Linked DNA regions of Homo sapiens: region 1 is linked to region 2. Evidence: promoter capture Hi-C in 16 types of primary human blood cells and fetal thymus (Javierre and others, 2016). All regions are on one chromosome and are shown on one strand. The core of a region is centred on a gene start or on the middle of the fragment in contact, and the rest is flanking DNA. Distances in the headings are between cores, read along the strand shown. Region 1 holds the start of GTF2F2 (general transcription factor IIF subunit 2). Region 2 holds the start of DNAJC15 (DnaJ heat shock protein family (Hsp40) member C15).

Region 1 (4,214 bases), core at 1,557-4,056, 2.1 Mb before region 2:
GAGGTTCTAGCAGGGGAGTACAACCATACATATACCCTTGACTGAAGACCAGTCCTCCTCTATCCGGATGGTCATCCTCTTTGGTCAAGCGTGCAGCTTCGGGAGGGACATACATGGAGCAGTGTGGGAGGAAGGAGACACCCGCCTAGCCAGCCAGATTAGCCAAATCAACCCTAGTAATCAATGGGGTGACAGATGTCCCAGACAGATCACACTCACATCCATTTTTTTTTTTTGAGACAGGATGTCACTCTGTCGCCCAGGCAGGAGTGCATGCAGTGGCACAATCTTGACTCACTGCAACCTCCAAATAGGCTTTTCTTAAACGTCACCTTCTTTATGATGTCTTCCCAGTTCTGGTGAAGCACTAATTTTTTTCCCGCTCAAAACTCTCAGAGATCTTGTATGTATAGTTCTTACTGTATTTACACAGTTCTATACCTGTCTAGTGATGGAATTAAATATGTACAAGATGATCTATAAACCGTGAGATATCCTAGGAAGAAACATTATTTAGCAACAAAGATCAGAACTCAAGGTATTATTTTTAATAGGAAAATTAATGTAAGGAGAAAAAACTTGAAATCAATATGTACTTCAATTCAAATTCTGATTAGATGAGAATGAAGATACACTTTCTAAGCAACAAATTACACTTTTTTTTAATTTATTTATTTTTTTGAGAAGGAATTTTTGCTCTGTTGCCCAGGCTGGAGTGCAACGGAGCAATCTCGGCTCACTGCAACCTCCGTCTCCCGGTTTCAAGTGATTCTTCTGCCTCAGCCTCCCAAGTAGCTGGGACTACAGGCGCACACCACCATGACTGGCTGATTTTTGTATTTTTAGTAGAGATGGGGTTTCACCATATTGGCCAGGCTGGTCTCGAACTCTTGACCTCATGATCCACCCACCTCGGCCTCCCAAAGTGCTGAGATTACAGGCGTGAGCCACCATGCCCAGCCCGATCCTGTGATAATTTTCTAATTGTGACTCTGGTTACCCTCCCCTCTAATTCGTACTGCACACTGCCAAACATTTTTTTTTTTCCTGAATAAATATCTGGCATCTCTACCTCACTCAAATCCTCCAAAAAGTTCGTTACTTCCTTGTAAACTAAAGTTAGAATATCTCCGTTTCATGATATGACAATCTGAGTATATGGTCCCCATCTTCATCTACACAGATCTTCTGCTCTAGGTTCTCTCTGTTTTCCACAACACGCCATGCTGATTATATATTTTGAGTCTTGCATTTCTGTTCCATTCCCCATGGTATACACTGTGTCCACCCATCCAAATCCTGTAAGACAAACATTGAGCATTTACCATGCTCCTAGGACAATGGCACCATCTCAAGTCACACCATTTTTTCAAGCTTTTTCCTTCAGTCCGTAAGGGCAATCTCCTCCTTAGTGACTCTCCCCCCAAGTAACATGCTGCTGGAGAGAGAAATGCCTATTTAATCCATCCTTTTAAGTCACACTGAGTTTGGAAATAAGTCAAATGAGTGCCACAGACTAAGGCGAGGGCTGAAGAATGAGAGGTCATGCATTTATTCATCATCTATTTGTTGAGTAATTACCATGCGCCAAACACTATTCTGGGTATGACAGGCAAAGATCCTGTTCTCATGGAATGTGATTCTGTGTGTTGGAAAGACAGAGGTAACCAACTTTGAACATATGAACACAAAATCACTCTACACTGTGAAAAGTGCTTTGAAGAATGTAATACACATCTGTCGTGTTAGCAAATGATCACAAGGGGGCTGTTTTAGGAAGGCCGACAAGAAAGACCTCTTAGATTTAATTGACGAGAACTCAGCCATGTGATAAAACAGTTAAAGCATTAAGAAACCAAAAGTCCTTACATTTTAAGTTTCAACGACTTTCAGGATCACATTTTGAATATGCTTAAGTATTATGAAACTCCCCTAGGAGAAAACACTCCCCAATATGAAACAATAAAGCACAAATAGTGCTTACTGTGAGCTAACCAAAATTGCTGTCTTCACATAAAACGTTTATTGACGGCCAGTTTCACGAGACCCAAATGTGCTCTAAAAGAATACTCCAGTCCAATGACCTCTCCTTCTGTGAGTTTGGGGCTCTCTCGCCTCTTTTGAGAGCTTCATTAAGGACCATCAACCTAAGAGAACACTTTTAAGAGTAGGCAGGGACCAGTCCTACTTTCTGGCCGAGAAAACTGTACAGAAAGTAGACATTCAACTACCTCACGCAGGCTCATGGCTAAAACCAGTTTCACCAAGGGAAGATACAAGGAATTCTTCAGTCTGGGATAAAATGCACCGTCCAAATCTGGGGACACCAAGACAAGATTCCAGGAAAGCCGTGAGAAAGAGATCTAGTCCAGGCAGATTCAGAGTAGTAACTGGCTGAAAGACACTTTGCGTCCCTAAACTAATTCCTCGTCTGCAAACAGATACAACAATGACTCCTGCCTCTCAAAATGTGTGAAGCTCTAACGAGATAGCCGTAAAAGAACTTTAAGAGGCGCACGGAGCGGGATAGGCTCAAGTTACTTAAACTATACTTGTGTTAGGAGGAGCGCAAGTGGGAGACTCGCGAACATTACCTTGACTAGCCACACTCCTGTGTTCTGTTTGGCGCCGGTCAAGTCGAGTTCCCCGCGCTCGGCCATGGGTCTGCAGCCGGTGGAGGCGTGCGGGATGCAGCAGCGACCCCAGGAGCCGCAGGGCTGAGGAGCGGGCGTCCGGAACAAAGGACAAGCCGCGCTGAGAGGCGAAGAGCCGGCGTTCCTTACCTGCCAGAACACTGGGAACCGAGGAAAAGAGGAACACGCCGCCAGGAGCCGGGACTGCGCCTGCGCACTGCTACGTCAGTACGGCGCGCTGTTGCAGACAAACTTTCTGTTTCGGAAATTTCTTGAGTGGGCGTGGCTGTCCGCGATGTCTGCATCTGAGGGATTAAAACGTAGGGTGGGATGAGCTAAAACGTTAGCAATGTATTTAAAGACATGGTCAGCATAACTGAAGAAAAAGATTATCAGAACGGAAAAATGGGGTTCAAAGAGACGAAAGGTGTCAGAACATGTCCAACCCTAGCCAAGGAGAGAGAGACAATATTTGAAGGACAGGGTCAGGGTAGTAAATTGGCGTCCCTGGCCAACGTCATTAGCACAAATGGGCACTGGGATCAAACTTAGTAGCCTTGGGTATATTGAAAACATGCCGTTTCTAGACCTGGAAAAAAAAAAGCCGTGTTTCAGCTCAGAGGCTACCCGAGCTGTTCTGATGAAGCAAGCGGAGCACCTCAGTTTCCAAAACCCGGAAGTCTGTAACGAAACGAACAAGTAAGAGACAAACCTGATCGTTTCCTCCCCTGCTTAAACAGTTTTCTCTTTCTCTTATTGCCTCTAGAATAAAGTTCAATCCTCCTGCTTCAACTGGGCCCTCTCAATTTCATCTCTTTGCACCTCCCACCATCACTCCGCCATGCACCAAACCACATCAAACCCAGCAGACTTCCCTAAACACGTCAGAATCTTCGTCGGTCATTTCAGAGCCTCTGCACACTGGATTCCCTTCCCTTGGAAGCCCTATTTTACCCCTGCCCTCACTCTCACCCCTGTGCTCTGGTTGGCAAACTCCTACTTATGGTTCAAGACCAATGAAAATGTCACTTCCTATGAGATCTTTTATCAACTTCCCCAGAAGAAATTAGTTTTTCTTCACATCACAGTGTGATACTTAGCACTCTGAACTATAATATATATGTTTACATATCTGCCTTTGCTTTCCAGACAATGAACTCCTCCTAGGCGGAAAGAGCTTTATTGAGGTATAATTGACAAATAAAAAATAGTGCTTTATTCATTTTATATCCACAATGTCTAGCACAGTGTTTAACACATTGTCAGGTTTCAGTAGGCTTTGGGTGAAAGAACATTCGCTGAAGAGAAACAAACAGTAAGGTATTGTTAAGAATGGCAAGTAATTTATTGAATCACACATCAGAGCCTTGCACAAAATTGAGGAAATTTTATGTGTGTTCAGCATAGGGCCAGGAAAAGCTGTCAGAACTCTGCTTTTAGCTAGGAAAACTAATAGGAAAGATGGGAGAGACCAGGAGTGTGTTGAAGATGAAAGTTTCAGGCTAGGCTCAGTGGCTCAACCCTGTAACCCTAACTTTGGGAGACTGAGGTGGGAGGATTGTGTCTGCCCAGGAGTTCAAG
Region 2 (4,333 bases), core at 317-2,816:
GAATCGTAGATCTGCCACTTACCAGGGATGATCCTGGACCAGTTACTTAAAACTTTCTAAATCTCTACTGCCTCATTTTTTTTTCTTTGTTGGAGACAGGGTCTAGCTCTGTCTCTCAGGCTGGAGTGCAGTGGCGAAATCATAGCTCACTATAACCTCAACTCCTGGGCTCAAGTGATTCTCCCGACCCAGCCTCCCAAGCAGCTAGGACTACAGGCTCACACCACCACACCCAGCTAATTTTTTTTTTTTTTTTTTAGCAGAGATGGGGTCTCCTGTGTTGCCCAGGCTGTCCTCCAAACTCATGGCCTCAAGTGATCCTCCTGCCTGGGCTTCCTAAAGCGCTGGGATTACAAGCCTAAACCACCACTTGGGCAATATTTCATATTGAATGTTGAAAATTACCATGCAACTGTGCATATATCAGGTTAAAGAAAATACATGGTTAAAATCAAACCCACCTGTTTCTCTTCAGTTGTTTAATATGGCTACAAAAAACTTAAAAATATGCCGGACGCGGTGGCTCACGCCTGTAATCCCAGCACTTTGGGAGGCCGAGGCGGGCGGATCACGAGGTAAGCAGATCGAGACCATCCTGGCTAACACGGTGAAACCCCCGTCTCTACTAAAAATACAAAAAATTAGCCGGGAGTGGTGGCAGGCGCCTGTAGTCCCAGCTACTTGGGAGGCTGAGGCAGGAGAATGGCCTGAAACCGGGAGGCGGAGCTTGCAGTGAGCCGAGATCGCGCCACTGCACTCCAGCCTGGGCGACAGAGCGAGACTCCGTCTCAAAAAAAAAAAAAAAAAAAAAAAACGTAAAAATACGTATGTGGCTCACAATATGCTTCTGTTGGACAGTTTTCTGTTAGACCCTTCCTTTTTCCAGCTCTACAGTTCATCCTGAATACACCACTTGGAGTTTCCAACTGGGCCCTGTTTCTGTGCCGGAGACTTTGGAGACAGTAGTCCTGGTACCCGAAACACTTTTTCCCCTTCTCCTTGCTGAATGGACTGTTTTTATTCATTCAGATCTTAATTTTTAACTACAGCTTTCTCCAAGAAGCGTCCCTGATCCCACCACGTCCCCTGCAAGACGTTTTTAGGGCCTCCTATGAGATAGGAAAATCCACATACAGCACTTATTTTACTGTATTTGCAATTGCCTGTTTTCTGGTTTGTGTCCCAGACAAGACTGGAAGCTCCTTGAGGAGACAGATCCTCAGAACTGCTCCGTCTTCCACGCCCAGGCGTCAAAGCCCAGCACAAAGCGGTCTCTCCACTGAACAAGTGAGCGCTAGGGCACAGACCGTGAGCGAATGCGGGGGAGTACAAAGGTTCAAGGGTGAGGCGGTAGAGGGGGCTGAAGCAGAAACTACAAGGGAGCCAGAGAGGGGTGGGGGCCGCTGGCAGGACTCACCAGTCTCTGCTGGTCGACGTCGGCGTCTGGCCGTTTGGCCGAGGGCTGCAAGTACTCAGCGTAGCGCAAACTCTCGCCAACTGGAGCGATGACACCACGGGCAGCCATGGCAAGGCGGCCCGGAGACTCAAGGCGCCGCGGCAGTGACTACGAGGCGGCCGTAGGGACAAACTAGTTAGCGCGGTTTCTTCTCGCAGATCCAGTGGACTCTGCGCTCGTTGTGCTATTAAAGGCGAGGTTCCCGGAAGATACCCTTCTCACCCGAGCTGGGTAACGTGTCCCGTGCAAGCACGGGGTCACACTCCGAAAGGAGCCAAGGGCACTGGGACGTTCTTGAATCACACTCACAGGCGCAAAGCCAACGCGGACCCTCAGGGAGCTTTATATACTTGGGCCTGGTCCCTCCCCAGGCCGCCGTAAGGGACTGGGCTTAAGCCCTGCGAACTGATGTTGGTCGAATCAGATGACTGCCCAGTAAGCTCGGAGTCTAGCTGTAGTGCCTGAGGGTGGGCTTGCCTGAGCTTTCCTGACCCCCTTCCGGGCAGCCTTTCTTCCCACTCTCAACTTCTGTTCGCACTTCTGTTTAATGCCACAGTTCTACCACCCCGGGAGAGAAATTAAAGAGGCAATTTGCTTACTCCACCCCCAAGTAAATGGCTGTATTTAAGGTGAAATTACACAGAAGAAAGTTGTGGCCGGGTGCGGTGGCTCACGCTGTAATCCCAGCACTTTGGGAGACCGAGGCGGGTGGATCACACCAGCTTGGCCGACATGGTGAAACCTCGTCTCTACTAAAAATACAAAGATTAGCTGGGTGTGGTGGTGCGTCCCTGTAATCCCAGCTACTCAGGAGCCTGAGGCAGGGGAAAAAAAGTTGTGAGCAAGTAGGTAAATCTTACTCTCCCTCAAATGAGTTTGTGCTGATTTGTATATATAAAAGCCCATTTTATTATTAAGCTTTTTTTTTTTTTTGAGATGGAGTCTCGCTCTGTTGCCCAGGCTGAGTGCAGTGGCGCAATCTCTGGCTCACTGCACCCTCTGCCTCCCGAGTACCTGGGATTAAAGGCACGTGCCACCACACCTGGCTAATTTGTGTATTTTTAGTAGAGACGAGGTTTCACCATGTTGGCCAGGCTGGTCTCAAACTCCTGACCTCAGGTGATCCGCCCGCTTCAGCCTCCCAAAGTGCTGAGATTACAGGCGTGAGTCACCGCGCCTGGCCTCCATCAAGTTTTTAGAGCAAAAATTAACCAGCAGTTGAAGCGTATGGTGTTTTCCAACTTCTGTACCAACGTGGCAGCTCTTTGGCTCCTTATACCCTTTGCAAAATCAGCTGACAGGAAGAAAAAGCTTTATTTTTTTTCTATTCCTGAATTTAAAGTTTTGAGGGTCTATTAATTTGTTCACTTAGTTAATATTATTAGCATGTCTAAGAAGTTAGGTCCTAGAAATTTACAATCTTGTAGGGAAGATAACACTGACACAGAATAATAGTACATACCAGAACATGAGCACATGCATTGCATAGCAGTATAAAGAGAACTGGACTGGGAATTAAACCGCCATTGCAAAATTACAACTGAGAAAGAGATCTGACCTAATCAACACCATCTTGCTTCTAACCTCCAAGCTGTCTTGTACATTCCTGGCCGTAGGCCAAACTAACTTTGGGAGGAATGTAATTCATAGTTTATAGTTTGAAACAAAGATGATAAAAGCCCTTTCCCAAAACAAACCTCCTTCTTGCCTGGGGACTAGACTGCCTTTGTAGGACTAACAAATTAGCCACAAGATCAGAAATTATGACTTAGGAGTCATGCAGCTGGAGGCTACAAGATTCTGACCCTCCCCAAATTGCTGCTGGAGCTAACATCACTATTGTAAAAACTACCACCAGTGCTTGAGATATTTTGCAGACCCCGCACTTGATGAATCAGCTGGCATCACCCAGATCGATAAACTGGCTCATCTGATCTCGTGGCCCCCACCCAGGAACTGATAACGCAAGACAACTTGGACTCCCTGTGATTTCATCTTTGACCTGACCAATCAGCACTCCCAGCTCACTGGCTTCCCCCTACTCACCGAGTTGTCCTTAAAAATTCTGATCCCCAGCTGGGCGCGGTGGCTCATGCCTGTAATCCCAGCACTTTGGGAGGCCGAAGGTGGGTGCATCATGAGGTCAAGAGAGTGAGACCATCCTGGCCAACATGGTGAAATCCCATCTCTACTAAAAATACAAAAATTAGCTGGGCGTGGTGGGTGCCTGTAGTCCCAGCTACTCGGGAGGCTGAGGCAGGAGAATCGCTTGAACCTGGGAGGCAGAGGTTGCAGTGAGCAGAGATCGCGCCACTGCACTCCAGCCTGAGGACAGAGTGAGACTCCGTCTCAAAAAAATAATAATAATAAATAAATAAATAAAAAATTCTGATCCCTGAATGCTCTGGGAGACTGATTTGAGTAATAATGAAACTCCAGTCTCCTGCACAGTCAGCTCTGCATGAATTACTCTTTCTCTATTGCAATTACCCCGTCTTTATAAATTTGGCTCTGTCTAGACAGCCAGCAAAGTAAACCCATTGGGTGGTTACAGGAATAAGGAAGACATCTGAGTTCTAGTGTACCTCCATTATTTTCTGGGCTTGTATAACTGAACATATCCATTAACCTCTCCAAATTACCTGTAAAAGGAGAATAACATTTGTCCAACATTCTGACTCAGGGAAGTTGTGCAAACAAATATAAACCTCAAAGAACCAATCCTTCAAGATGGATCCCAAGTGGCTAACTAGGACTAACTTAAAATAGAGCCAAACCTTCCTTTTACACTGAAATCTGTGGCTCTCAGGTTTGCAAACTGTTTATTGGGATAGTCTCTCTCCTCTAAATTCCTTTTCAGAGAACTTTTCATTTACA

What was found. Contacts are between HindIII fragments. The CHiCAGO score rates a contact against its expected background, and 5 or more counts as called.
Region 1: a contact is called between the fragment with the promoter of GTF2F2 here and the fragment with the promoter of DNAJC15 in region 2, in 3 of 17 cell types (monocytes, total B cells and naive CD8 T cells). The highest score is 8.6, in monocytes.

The regions. Positions count from the first base shown.
Region 1 is chr13:45,119,102-45,123,315 of GRCh38, reverse strand. GTF2F2 (general transcription factor IIF subunit 2) reads right to left here and starts at 2,806. Exons shown (of 8, transcript NM_004128.3): 1 at 2,595-2,806. The coding sequence starts at 2,660. It also overlaps the pseudogene RN7SKP4. RefSeq lists enhancers at 1,891-2,532, 2,643-2,772, 2,533-3,176. The HindIII fragment of the contact is 3,497 bases long and covers 1,377-4,214 here.
Region 2 is chr13:43,020,819-43,025,151 of GRCh38, reverse strand. DNAJC15 (DnaJ heat shock protein family (Hsp40) member C15) reads right to left here and starts at 1,566. Exons shown (of 6, transcript NM_013238.3): 1 at 1,418-1,566. The coding sequence starts at 1,525. RefSeq lists enhancers at 1,068-1,117, 1,628-1,677, 1,688-1,747. The HindIII fragment of the contact is 4,162 bases long and covers 1-2,376 here.